4 separate regions of the Homo sapiens genome follow, and regions 2, 3 and 4 are each linked to region 1. Evidence: promoter capture Hi-C in 16 types of primary human blood cells and fetal thymus (Javierre and others, 2016). All regions are on one chromosome and are shown on one strand. Each heading gives the region's core, a stretch centred on a gene start or on the middle of the fragment in contact. The rest is flanking DNA. Distances are from core to core; before and after follow the strand shown.

Region 1 (3,278 bases), core at 416-2,915:
TCCGGCCTACCATAGGTAGCACTGACAAAGTTATTTAATAACTGAAGAATTTTCATAGGTATGACAAATGGCCCACTAAGATTTGGTGCAGCTGGATTTAGAGTTGTCATTATTGGACTGGTACAGGAACAAACTTTGTAAATACCTGCCTGCCAGGAAATCCTTTTTGTATAGAAAAGTACCATCACCTACTTGGGGTACAGGCATGAGGCTTTAGTCCAGGCTCAGGGAAGTGTACGTAAATCATTTCCAACTTGATTTTAGTAACTCTTGAAAACTTACACCAACTTCGGTTAGAATCTCCAGAGTAAAATTACAAAGTTATCAACCTTTTGATTTGTGTCACAGCATGAAAGGTTGCTCTATTTTATATAAACCTGTTACTGCAATCATTTTTAGTCAACCTGCCTAATGAAAATGGAGTCTAAACACTTTGTGCACAGTCCTTTTATAGGAATTATGATCTTTAAAATACTGTGCTTGCTGCTTTTCCTATTTTTGGGGTAACTGAGGTAACAAAACTGCGTATGGCTTTATTTTTCCATCCCTTGACTAAAGGTACCTAGAACTTCAACCAAGTACAAGTAGCAAGGTTCACAGCAAACTGCAATCAGCTTCACAGATGGAGGGTTTTATATCCCAGAGTGTGGTCAACGACTCAAAAGAGAATTTCAAGTACCAGTTTCAAAATGCTAATTAATATCGTCCAGAGAACAGATTCCTCCTCTTGCGAGGCGTCTTCCGGGGCACCAGCGTGCTTCTGGCCGGCATCTGCGCCGTCGGCGGGGTAGGCGGCCTCGCCGAACGGGTGCTGCTCGACCGTGCCGTCGTAGTACACCTTCATCTCGAACTCGCTCTCCAGGTGGGAGGGGTGTCCATAGACGCCGATGCCCACTGGGCGCCGGAAGTGCGCGGGGATGGACACGGCGTCCGGGCCGCAGGTGGCCGATTGCAGCTCGTAGTCGTCGAAGCTGGGGTGCAGGCTGCTGGCGGAGACGTACAGATCCGCATCTCCCTTGAGGCTGCGCATCCTGAGGACTATCTTGCCCTCGTGGTTCAGCCGCAGGTAGCTGTAGTTCCCGGCGCCTATCTGGCCCTGGACGACGTGCAGGAGCACCCACTCCTCGGGGACCTCCTCCTCGTCCGCGCAGCTTCCCGGAGACAGGACCTGCGAGGCTAGGAGCAGCAGCAGGGCCGTCGTCCAGGGCGCGGCCCTCCCGCGGGGAGCGGCCATGGCTGGCGGCTCAGCTCCGGGGCCTGCAAGTGGGTCAGTGCTGCTGGGGACACCGGAGGCGCTCAGCACCGGAGCCTGTCCCCGCCGTCCGCACGCGGGTCCACGGCGCGTCCAGGCGCCTGGTCTGTCGCTGGGACTGTCCCTTCCCACCCGCGTGAGGCCCCGGGGAGGAGGGGTGGGTTAACCCCTCCCCCGTAGCGCGGCGCCCACTCAGGGCAGGGGCAGGGGCAGGGGCAGGGCCGCTGTGGCACCCTCGGACTCACCACCACTCCCCGCAGGGGGCCGCGCTTTATACATCCGGACCCGAGGCCGGAGCCTCGCCGGAGGCGGAAGTGACGCTAGGTCCGTAAGTGAGCCGGCCGGAAGCGAGGCTTCTCCAGCTGTCGCGAGATAGCGAAAGGGGCGTGGGCGCGAGGGGCGGCGGGCTAGTAACCATAGCGGCTCGCGTGGGTCGGCTGGCAAGTAACCATAGCGGCGAGCGTGGGGCGGAGTGTGGCTCGGTAGTCCTCTGCGTGCCCTCCTGGGAGCTGGGTGCTGTGAGTCCTCCCCTAGCGGGCTGGTCTCGGCGCGGAGTCGGCGCCGAACCCGAGCTGCTGCTCTGGGGCGTGTGCCTAGGGCGCAGGGCTGGAGCGCGGGGGCTGCGCGGTTGCTCGCGGCTCCGCTGAGGTCTCTAGGAAAGGGGGCGATTTGAGGGTTCCGCCGTGACCGCTTCCAACGGCGGACACGCGCGCTCTGGACCAGAGCCGTTGCCCGCTGTCTCGTCACCCGAAGCCTCCTCCTGACGCCGTGCTAGTGCGAGGGTCTCCAGGGGAATTCGGGGCACAAGTCGGGCCGGAGCATCCGGGCGGCCGCTTGAGATCGGCGCTTTGAGAACTGAGCGCATGTGGAGTTCGGAGGAAAAGGGCTCAGGTGGTTATTTTAATTAAAGCAGCTGTGTATAAGGAGCACTCAGATCTCTTTAAAAGATTCAGTAGTTTAGGAACGAACCAGGGCTGTAGAAATGCCCGGCCTCCTGCACCTCCCGTCGGTTCTGAGCTCCGAGGGCGGGAGCGTGGACCCTGAGGGCTCGTTAATTATGCCCCACTGGCCTTTCAACCTGCGTGGTAACTACCAGGCTAGGTTTTCCTAACTCGAGCCAAACAGCAAGTTTCTGACTTGATTATCACTAAAAGAGAAAAATTTCGATCTTTTCTAATCAGAAGGGAGTAATTTTCTCTTTTTAAAAATATTCGTATGTACATTAAAAAAACGGAAATGCACAGGATTTTATCAGTGGTACTCCTCGAGTAGTAGAGTTTTCATCTTTTTATGTATTTCTAAATTTTCTACAATTTACACACACTGCTCTGTACCAGTAAAGGAGTATTAACTCTACAGCTTCCAGTTTATCTGGGATTACTATCTTGTGTTTACTGACTTAACTTTAAGACTATGGTATCTTTAGCAATCACTTGTCACTGCCTTTTCCTGAAGTGCTTACCTAGTGTTAGGTGCACTAGAATCTCACTAAAATAATAAATTTAGTTTATTTTCCCTGACTTGTTCTGTGCATGTATGTACATGGATATTCCTGGGGATATCCTGTGACATTGATTATCCCCTAGGGTTGGCACAGCAGGGAGAGGAGGTAGGGATAAAAAACTTTATTATTTCTGCATTGTTTAAATGTTTTGTATTGTATTGCTTTTGTAATTCAAAAAAATGTTAAACAATTTATATTAGTGGAGGTAGGTTAAGTGCTGTAGCAATTCACCCCAATAGAACAGTTGCATGTTTCTTGCTCACACAGTCCTGTGTAGCGGTTTCTAGTCAGACGATTCCTTTGGGCAGCTCTCTGCAAGCTGCAGCCTAAAATTCTTCCATGTTGTGGTTTTTTTCCTTAGGCCCTCTGAATTCTCCGCATTTAGCCAGTGGGTGGGGAAAGAAGAGAGGCAGTGCAGGAGGAATTTATGGGCCAGGCACTCAACGACTACATGGCTGCACTTAATTGCAAGGGAAGCTAGGGAGTGTAGTTTAGTTCTGTGTCTAGAAGGAAAGGGAAGTG
Region 2 (3,278 bases), core at 382-2,881, 840 kb before region 1:
TTTCTTTGCAGTTTTCTGTATTTCATCAGAATGTTTTTTTTTTCATGTTATGTGTTCATTTTTGGCCTCTGTCTTCTATGTTAGAGGCTTCCTTCAAATCTCTGATTTTTTTTTTTTTTTTTTTTTTTTTGCTGTCCATTCACATTGAAGAGTCTTGTACCAAAATTTGATTATGAAAGTCCTTGTTGACATGGCTTGTCAACTGACAGCCGTTAACTGGGTGCTTAAGTAAGCAGCATTTTCTTCAGATGAAGAATTTCTTTAATCTTTTTTCCTGAGGTGAGGTGGGACTACAGGAAGAGAAGCCCGGTTGGCAGCTTTTTAGGCCTCAGAGGAGGAAGGGGGCTGAAGGTCTGTGTTTTGTTTACATCAACTTTCCATTTCATGTGTTTTGCTCCTACCCTTTGCCACTCTAGAGCCTGGTCCCCTAAGTCCAGAGCCTCTGCTAATGTCTCAGGAGACTTCCTTTACTGTCTTCTGTGTTGGTGGATGCAGGGACCTGGAGAGCAGTGCTCCATATTGAAACCTTCAGGACAGCAAGGTCCACAGCTCTTTCCCTTGGTGTCAACCGCTGTCTGCACTAACCTCTCTGTCTTTAATCTCTTAGCTGCTCTCATGCCTTTTAAAAATTTTTCTCCCAAATTAAAAGTGGCTTTAGTTTTTCTGTAGTGAAAACAATCAGTACATGTTTATACATACACTCATGCAGTTTTATGTAAGTAGGACTTTGGTATCTGTTTTTCTGTAACTATACATTATGTATTATCAAGGAGATCTAAGCTATATGCATAATGATTTTTGTATTTAATTAACAAAAAATTTTTTTGTCTTCTGTTTTTGCTGCTGTAATACATAGCATCATTTACCTAACCAGTCCTCTAAAGGGCATTTTGGCTTCCTGTTTTCTTAATATAAACACTATGATGAACATCCTTGTACATACATTTTTGTGTACTTCCCCAATTATGCTTGTCTTGCTAGAATAAACTTCGAGTAGTTGAAGTATTGGGTCAGATAAATTTTTTTTTGTATTTTGTTGAGTATACTCTTTCTGAAGGATACGCCAGTACCCTGAGTACCCGATTTTATATAACCTTCCCAGTATTAGAATTAACACATTTTGAAACATCTTTTTGCCTATTGAACAGTTTATTATTTTCATTTATATATATTCTTGGGCATGTTTTCATATGTTTATTGACTTTATAAATTTCCTCTTTGGAGACTGATTCATATATTAACTGTTGCCCATTTCCTTATTTGCAGGTTAGTTTTCTTCTTACTGATTTTCAAGAACTACATTCGACTGTGTCAAATGTCTGTGATATTATAGATACTCCCAAGAGTGTTATTTGTCTCTTTTGGGTGGTGCCTTTTGCTACACAGAAATTGCTGTGTTTCATACAGTCTAATCTGTCAATCATTTCTTTATGACATTCAGTTTCTTGCCTTGTTAGAAAAACTTCTCCCATCCAAAGCTTAGCTGTATTTCTTTTAAGACTTGTCTGATTTTATTTTTTACATTGAAATGATTGTGCTTTTTGGATTTTACTTTGATGAGGAAAAGCACTTTGTAATCAAGATTCATGCCATTCTACATTTATTTTTGTTTTTATTTATTGATTTTTGCTGTTTTATACTGATTTTACTAGTGTCTCTCTTGCTTCTTCTAGGGGGTCTTTAAAGCTGTGTTCTTGGACATAGCCCACCCTTTCTTTGGTTTATTTTTTTAAATTTGTTGTGTGTGGTTTTCTGAGATTGGTTCCATCCTTGGGTAAAGCTTTTGGGCCTCAGTTTACTTGTGGCCTGTCATCCTCATGAGAGATACAATCATTTTTCTGCCTTTACACCTTACATCTCTTTCTTTTTTTGTATATTGAGGTTAGTGGATTGCCTGCTGTGATCTCATGTCTTGTCCCAAGCTTGCTTCCAGCAAAAATACTTCCCAGTTTCTTAGGTGACCTCAGATGGTGCCTTCTCCACCAGAGAATTCAGTTTACACAATCCTTTTTCTTTTTTTGAGACCAAGTCTCGCTCTGTTGCCCAGGCTGGAGTGCAGTGGCATGATCTCGGCTCACCACAACCTCCGCCTCCTGGGTTCAAGCGATTCTCCTGCCTCAGCCTCCCAAGTAGTTGGGAATAGAGGCACGTGCCACCATGCTCAGCTAATTTTTGTATTTTTAGTAGAGATGGGGTTTCACTGTGTTGGCCAGGCTGATCTCGAACTCCTGACCTCGTGATCGGCCCACCTCAGCCTCCCAGAGTGCTGGGATTACAGGCGTGAGCCACCGCGCCTGGCCAAGTTTACGCAGTTCTATAGTAGAAAACATACAAAGCTAACAGTGGCAGTTGTACATGGTTAGTAAGGAGATTGTCCCTATATCACATCTCCCAGGGTACTGAGTTCTGGTATATAATGTGTTTTCTAAATCAGTTATGTTTTTAAAAAATCATACCTTGTAAATGACTCGTGATTTCTCATACCCAGAACACGGTTGTTTTTAACAGGCCTTTTTAACGATTGTAGAATCACCTGTGTTCTTTGTAACAAACTCAAATAAGATAGAAGCACATGAATTAATTCCCTTCTTTTCTTGCCTCTAATTCAGAGCTCAAAGATGACCAGCCACAGTTACTTATCTTTCCAGACTTTTTTGTGCTTGTACAAATAGTTTTCTTATTCTTTTAAACAAAAGCAGTATCGTATTTTACAGGTTACAGAATTCTCTTCGTTTTACTGTGTCTTGCGGATGTGTCCCTTGGACCTGTCTATATACATAAGTCGTGCTTTCCTTCAAGTTCTCCTCTTCGTTAGCTTAGGAGAGCCAAGAAATAAAGACTTTCTTACAAATGACTGTTTGAGTTTGGCTGATGTGTCCTACAGAAACCTCACCATCTCTCTCTGTGTTCTCCCTACTCTCTTACGGGTCCTTACCTACTACCATGGCTTGGATTATTTTTGTGTATTCTCATGGCTTCCAACTGTTTTACATCTGCAGTGGTTAATTCTCTTGTCATCTTTACCTGAAGATCATAAAAATGCCTTTCTCCCTCTTACCCACCCTTTCTGTGTTACTCAATATTGTATTTTAACTCCCAAGCCTACAGTTTACCCTTGAACAACACACCAACACGGGGATTGGGGCTGTCTGCTGGGTGGCACCTGTGCAATGGTGACTGGGTTCTGGCTGTCACATGTGCAACAGTGTGTGTGCTGCAGCTGTCACCAGTGCAACAGTGGCTGTGTTCCAACTGTTCCCTGAAGTTTTAGCCAAGGT
Region 3 (3,278 bases), core at 367-2,866, 810 kb before region 1:
TGCCTGGCTAATTTTTGTATTTTTAGTAGAGATGGGGTTTCACCATGTTGGCCAGGCTGGTCTTGAACTCCTGACCTCAAGTGATCTGCCCGCCTTGGCCTCCCAAAGTACTGGGATTACAGCTGTGAGCCACCATGCCCAGCCTGAAGTGTTTTTATGATGGTTGGTCTAAAATCGTTGTCATATAATAATTAATATATCTGCCAGTGTTAGCAGTCCTTGTTGTTTCACTCTCCCATCAACATGTGACATTGTCAGAGTTTTATTAAAGCCATTTTGCTAGGTGTACAGTAATATTACATTGTGGTTTCAATTTGTATTTCCCTAATGACTAATTATGTTTTAAATCATTTTTATAATGGGTCATTTGTTTTCTTATTATTATACCTTCATTGGTTTTTAAAAAGCTTCCTAGCACCTAAAACACTCCTTACCATGGCAGGTAAGGCCCTGTATGATATAACCCCTGCCTATCTTTTCAGCTTCATCTTTCACTTAAGTACTGTCCATATAGCTTGATACTCTACTGAAACAAGTTATAATATCATAATAGACCTCCTTCGTATTCTCACTCCCAAATCTGTAATTCTACCTGCACCTTTTGCTCTTTATTCCATCCAGATAAAACTGGAGAAGGTCTCCCCTACTAACAAAAATCAAACCCTTCACAGGAGATTTTGATCCCATTCCCTCTCATGGGGTCATTGTCTAGAACTTCTTTCTTTTCCTTTCTGTTGTGTGCTATTGATCTTTCATTAGTATTTAATCATCCTCACCAGTAACTAATATGCTTTATTACCTCCCATTATAAAGAAATAAGAGAGCCTCCCTTGTTCCCTAATTACCCTCTAGCTATTGTACCCTCTAGCTAATTCTTTTCATAGTCAAACCTCTCATAAATGTTGTCTATAAATGCTGATCCCACTTCTTTCCATCCTTTCCTGCTTTCTGATCTGGCTTTTGTCCCCACTACACTAAAATGATCTTGTCAAGGTACAAGTGATCTCCTTGTGGCCAAATAGCATGATAATTCTCTTGATTGAAACAGTCTATTCTCTTAGCTTTGGTGATGCCACATTCTCTGAAGTTTTCTCCCGTTTCATTAGCTGCTACTCAGTTTTCTGTACACTTTCTTTTTCTCTAGCCAACTTCTAGTTGTGGCCATTTCTCAAGGCTCAGTCTCCTTCCACTCTCTCCCTAGCTTTTCAACCAGCCCCATGATACTAAATGTCATCTATATGCTGATCAGTCCTAAATTTATATTTCTGGACTAAACCTATCCTTTGAATCCTAGACTAAAATATTCAATGACTATAACATCACTACTGAGATTCTCCAATAGAAACATGTCCCAAAGTGAATGTTGGTATCCAGCTTTTCCTACAATCTGTTCATCCAGGAGTCTTCTTCATGTGCCCTTTCATCAGTTGCTCACACTATAGACCTGAATGGCTTTCCTTTCATTCCTTACATCTAGTCCAGTACAGATCTTGTCAGTTCTACCTACCATACATATCTCAGACTCAACCACATCTTGTCGTCTTCAGTAACCATCATTTAACTTATCATCTGCACAGGTCTGGGCCATTCGGATAGCCACTGCACTAATTTATCTAGCTATTCCCCCACCAATCTCACCAAACAGCCAGAATGACCTTCTTAAAGCATATGGAATCATACCAATTTCTCCATTGTGTTGTGTTGCTCATCCACATGGGTTGTCCATGTGCGGCCCCTGTGTGTGTGTGTACCCTCCACATGGCTCATCCACATGTGGTCTCTGTGTGTGCATCCCCTCCAGGTGAATCATCCATATGTGGTTTTTGCGTGTGTGTGTGTGTCCCTCCTGCAGGTAGTTAATGCATGTGTGGTCTCTGTGTGTGTTTCCCCCTCAGCCGCCTCTCCTCCCTCATTTCATGCCCCTCTCCCACTGACCACCGTCCTCCAGCTCCCCTGACCTCATTTTTTCCCTTGAACCTATAGAGTTATTTTCTCTCAGTGGCTTTGGCCAGTTTGGTGTGTCAACCTTGCATGCTCATTCATGCATGGCTCCTCATTCTCACCTGTCAGTACTTGTTGCGCCTCCAAAGAGCAACCTTCCTAGTCCTCCTTTTAAGAAGAAATAGGTTCCATACTCCATTGTTCACTGTGGCCTAGCCTGTTTGTCTCCTTTATAACATTACTCCATTTGCATTTTTATTAGTTTTTAATTTCCTTGATCTCTCTCGGACAATAGATGATAAATTCCATGTGGGAAGAAACTATGTGTTCCATATATCAGTGTATTCCCAGCATCTACATAGTATCAAGTGTATAATAGGCATTCAATAAATATTCTTAACAAACTATTTGTAACTCTAACACTCAAGTTCCTTCACTGTTTCACACGTCTAAACTTTTGTGTTGTGGCGGTATTTTCTTGCCTAACTGATCCCACCTTCTTAAGGACTTTTTAGAATGAAAGGTATTGGAGGTCTCAATGATCATTGGCTTCATAGTTCATACATGGTCTTCTCTTACTGAGGATGCGAAGTACCCACAACCCCCACCGCACCTGCAGGAAAATGAGAGTGATGCTCACTGGCCATCAGAATGCAGGTGATGAGGCCGCACATGATCCAGTGTTCGGGACAGGTAGAGTGGAGACTGCCCTGTCTCCATAGCCAGACTGCCCCAGCTCAAAGAGGTTGCACATTTCAAGCATTGTAGTCGTAGTATAAGAAGAGATTCTTAGAGCTAAGAAAACTCGATTTTTGCCAGCTGCCATTTGAATTCAAATTTTAGATTAGATTTGAACTCAAATTTTTCTCTTTTTGTAAAGCTTAGTTTCAAGAGGAAATGACTGAGCTATAATTTTTCTCAGTTTCCCATGATGTTAATATATATCTACAATTTTGGTAATGAATGTATGAATTCAGACATATTCTGAAATCCGAGTCTGGGTGGCAAAATTTTGGCAATAATTTGAGACTGTCAAACTTGTGAAAGTATGTTGCTTTGGTAAAAGTGTTGAACTAGAAAGTTAAAGATTCTATCATTGATGTAAACCCCACAGTACAAATGACAGACCTCAAGTGATATAGCCCACAGTCTAGTAGAATAAGTTAGTCAATCACATGTCGGCGTGCATTTGCATTGGTTTTATTTTAGATTGAGGAACATGTGCATGTTTGTCACATGGGTATACTGCATGCTGGCGGGCACAGGGCTTGTAGTGTGCCCATTACCCAAATAGTGAACATTGTAACTGACAGCTAATTTTTCAACACTCACTCCCC
Region 4 (3,278 bases), core at 300-2,799, 580 kb before region 1:
TCCTCCTGAGGTCCTCGACGCCTGCCGACAGCCTGTCGCGGCCCGGCCGCCTGCGGCACTGCCTTCCGTGACGTCGCCGTTGCACTATGGACAGTTGCTCTTAAGAGAATATATATTTAAATGGGTGAACTGAATTACGCATAAGAAGCATGCACTGCCTGAGTGTATATTTTGGATTCTTATGAGCCAGTCTTTTCTTGAATTAGAAACACAAACACTGCCTTTATTGTCCTTTTTGATACGAAGATGTGCTTTTTCTAGATGGAAAAGATGTGTGTTATTTTTTGGATTTGTAAAAATATTTTTCATGATATCTGTAAAGCTTGAGTATTTTGTGATGTTCGTTTTTTATAATTTAAATTTTGGTAAATATGTACAAAGGCACTTCGGGTCTATGTGACTATATTTTTTTGTATATAAATGTATTTATGGAATATTGTGCAAATGTTATTTGAGTTTTTTACTGTTTTGTTAATGAAGAAATTCCTTTTTAAAATATTTTTCCAAAATAAATTTTATGAATGACAACCAGAAGGCGTAGTTACTTGGCTTTGCCTTAGAGCGGAGGTGTGCTCACTCACCTGCGGCCCGCGAGGCTGAGGGCAGAGGTGGCCTTGGTGTTTCTCTTTTCAAGGCTTTGGTTTCCCTGGATCCATGAGAAGCAGCCCGTTCCTCTCCTCCCTCAGGAAGCTGCTTGCTGGCCATCATGAGGTGACTTGGTAAGAGCAGGCACGCGCATGAAGCAGCCGCGATTTTCTAATTCCATCCCCCCATGCATTTATTAGTTCTTTCCGCAGAAAGAATGAGCGTTCCTCATTCATTCATTCATTCATTCATTCATTCATTCATTCATGTCAGTGTAGACTTGTGAGTTATTTTGTACCCAGTGGGTCACAGCTGTCATGATTTTGTCGCCGTTTGACGCCAACATGGCCCCAGACGGGGCGTGGGAGTCACGGAAGCTGCTCCTCCGCTTCCCGTCGGTGGGCAGCCCCGTCTCTAAGCGCGTCCCGCCTGCTGGCTCAGCAGGACCGCACGGGCTCCCTGTGGGCTGACCCCTCATTTGCCGCTTTGCCCCCCGCTAAGCCCGGGTTCCTTATGGTAGTGATTGCATTTTTAACTTGCGCGTACCTCAAAGCGCTGAGCGGTTCCCAGGATGGAAAGAGGGCGACCGATGTAGCAGGAGCTGCGCGGAGGCACTGGCGCTCACTCCCCTCAGACCCGACTCCGCTTGCATTTCCTCCTTGCATTAAGGGCACGTTAAATGCCAGGCCAGCAACACCAGCAAAGAGGAGAAGTGTTTTGCTAAGAACATTGAGCTTGAATCCGATGACAGCTCTCAGTCTCATTACCAGTTACGGAAACACGGGACTGAAAACTCCTTCCTCGACGCCCCACGCATCTGCGCAGCCGAATCCAGGGAACTCTGTAGCCAAATAAATTGCAAGGAAAAAACAAGAAAATGGTGAGGGGGAACCCATAGATACAAAGAGACACGGACATATCAATCCATCGCAGCGTCTGGATCTGGTTCCTGTTTCAAACAGTTTAAAAATTTTATGAACCCACTGGAGACATGTAAGCGCTGACTGGGATATCCACATGATTTTAAAGTGCACCTGCTAAATAGTTTAGATGTGATGTGTTATTACTGTTCAGTTTAAAAAGAGACCTTATCTTTTAGAGAAAATTCTGAAATATTTATGGATGAAACAATACGAGGCCTGGGACTGATTCGGAGCCCCCCGCCGCGGGCACGGTGGCACGGGGAGTCCCACGAGCACTGCTGGGGGTCGCTGCAGCTGGGAGTGGCCCATGGGGGCGCTCACTTCCGTGTTCTTTCCTCTTTCGTACACGTTTGAAACTTCCCATAAGCAAAAGCATTAAGCCGGACCATACAGTGAATACACGCACACGCAAACACGACAGTTTCCGGGTGTGTATGGACCGCCGTGTCTGTGACGTGACCCACAGCAGAATGCATCTGAGGGAGGCTTGCTGTGGTTGCATACGCACATCGCAGATGAGAAATCTTACAAGGCCAAAAGCAAGCCAATTAAACTGGGTGGAGAGCGGGAGTCCGGTCAAGGACGCTGGTAGCAGAGTCTCAGGCTCGCTGGTGGCGCGCCTAGGTGATTGCCCACTCTGCTGAGTCCTTGAAAGGGAAACGGCAGCGTCTGCAGCAGTGCTGGGAGCACCTCCTCCCGTCTGCAGGGGACGGTGCCTTTCAGGGCACGGTTCTGCGCATGTGCTCAGCTGGCGCCAGCGAACGGCTTCCGGCTGCTCTTAGCGTGGAGTTCAAAATCCTTGACTTGGCCTCTCAGGTCATGCACCATCCGGCTCCCGCCTGTCTTGGAGCCTCGTTTCGTTATTCTCCCACGGGTCTGTTACCGCTCGGCTCCAGCCAGCGCCCTGGCAGCCTGGTTCTCCATCCGCCCCCACTCTGCGACTTTGAGTGGGATCTTCCATCTGTCTGGTGACTTCCAGTGTGACCTTCTTCCGCCACGAAAATGACCCGCCTGGGTTACCTGCCGCACGTGATGGTGCTCTTGCAGTTTGCCCTGTGGCATGATTAATTCGTGTAGCTGTTTGTTTAGTGGGCGTGTGTCCCAGGAGACTGCAACCTCAAAGAGGGCGGGCTGTGTTGGCCCTGGTTCACCACTGCAACCCAATCCCCACTTGAGGCTGAAGCAAGAAAACGTTCTCTATCCATGTGAGCTATAATTTGAGAACACACAGACACACACTCAGGACATTTCATCATGAAAGAAGCTTCATTCTCGTGTTCACTCTTACCAATGTCACTAGGAGTTTCGAACCATAACATGAAGCCAAACACAGGGATTATCTGAGCGGATGAACATAGTATTCTGTTTTTATTCTAATAACTGGCTGCCTAGATACAGCCCTGTATATGGTAAGAGTGCGTCTACTTGGTATCCAGCAAACAAAGTGTTATGCATTAGTAATTCCTCAGTCCATGCATTTTACAGAAAAGGCAGAGGGAAGGTAAATCGTTTCCTGAGGAACAGCTGAATGTCTAGAAACGTCAAGATGAAGAGTAGAATTTTGCATGCAAGGACACGCGCCATGAGCACCAGGCCTCACACGCAGGAGGCACACAGTACGTCTGTGTTGAATGTAGTATCTTCCACTACAAGGATAAGGAAACAAAAAGTACTTAGAAACTTTACACATTTGTCATTTGGAAACAATTCAGAGATAAGTTTTTAAGATGATATGTATTAGTGCAGAGTACTAGAATTTTTCCGGAACAA

The links. The method cuts DNA at HindIII sites, captures the fragments that hold promoters and counts their contacts. A CHiCAGO score of 5 or more calls a contact.
Region 2: a fragment that was not itself captured here is called in contact with the fragment with the promoter of WDR27 in region 1 in 14 of 17 cell types (activated CD4 T cells, M1 macrophages, naive CD4 T cells and 11 more); the score reaches 13.1 in activated CD4 T cells.
Region 3: a fragment that was not itself captured here is called in contact with the fragment with the promoter of WDR27 in region 1 in 2 of 17 cell types (activated CD4 T cells and total CD4 T cells); the score reaches 5.5 in activated CD4 T cells.
Region 4: a contact is called between a fragment that was not itself captured here and the fragment with the promoter of WDR27 in region 1, in 2 of 17 cell types (monocytes and naive CD4 T cells). The highest score is 7.5, in monocytes.

Annotation. Positions count from the first base shown.
Region 1 is chr6:169,700,416-169,703,693 of GRCh38, reverse strand. WDR27 (WD repeat domain 27) reads left to right here and starts at 1,665. Exons shown (of 26, transcript NM_182552.5): 1 at 1,665-2,143. It overlaps C6orf120 (chromosome 6 open reading frame 120), which reads right to left and starts at 1,568. Exons shown (of 1, transcript NM_001029863.3): 1 at 1-1,568. The coding sequence starts at 1,234. The coding sequence ends at 659. RefSeq lists a silencer at 1,202-1,571 and enhancers at 1,622-1,711, 2,032-2,111. The HindIII fragment of the contact is 12,443 bases long and covers 1-3,278 here.
Region 2 is chr6:170,537,441-170,540,718 of GRCh38, reverse strand. All of the region lies in intron 4 of PSMB1 (proteasome 20S subunit beta 1), which reads left to right. Among named protein-coding and RNA genes, the nearest start is that of PSMB1, 14 kb to the left of the region's middle. The HindIII fragment of the contact is 302 bases long and covers 1,481-1,782 here.
Region 3 is chr6:170,511,249-170,514,526 of GRCh38, reverse strand. No RefSeq gene overlaps it. Among named protein-coding and RNA genes, the nearest start is that of PSMB1, 40 kb to the left of the region's middle. The HindIII fragment of the contact is 2,414 bases long and covers 410-2,823 here.
Region 4 is chr6:170,279,456-170,282,733 of GRCh38, reverse strand. DLL1 (delta like canonical Notch ligand 1) reads left to right here. Exons shown (of 11, transcript NM_005618.4): 11 at 1-528. LINC01624 (long intergenic non-protein coding RNA 1624) reads right to left here. Exons shown (of 2, transcript NR_104177.1): 2 at 3,265-3,278. Among named protein-coding and RNA genes, the nearest start is that of LINC01624, 8.6 kb to the right of the region's middle. RefSeq lists an enhancer at 1-590. The HindIII fragment of the contact is 2,450 bases long and covers 325-2,774 here.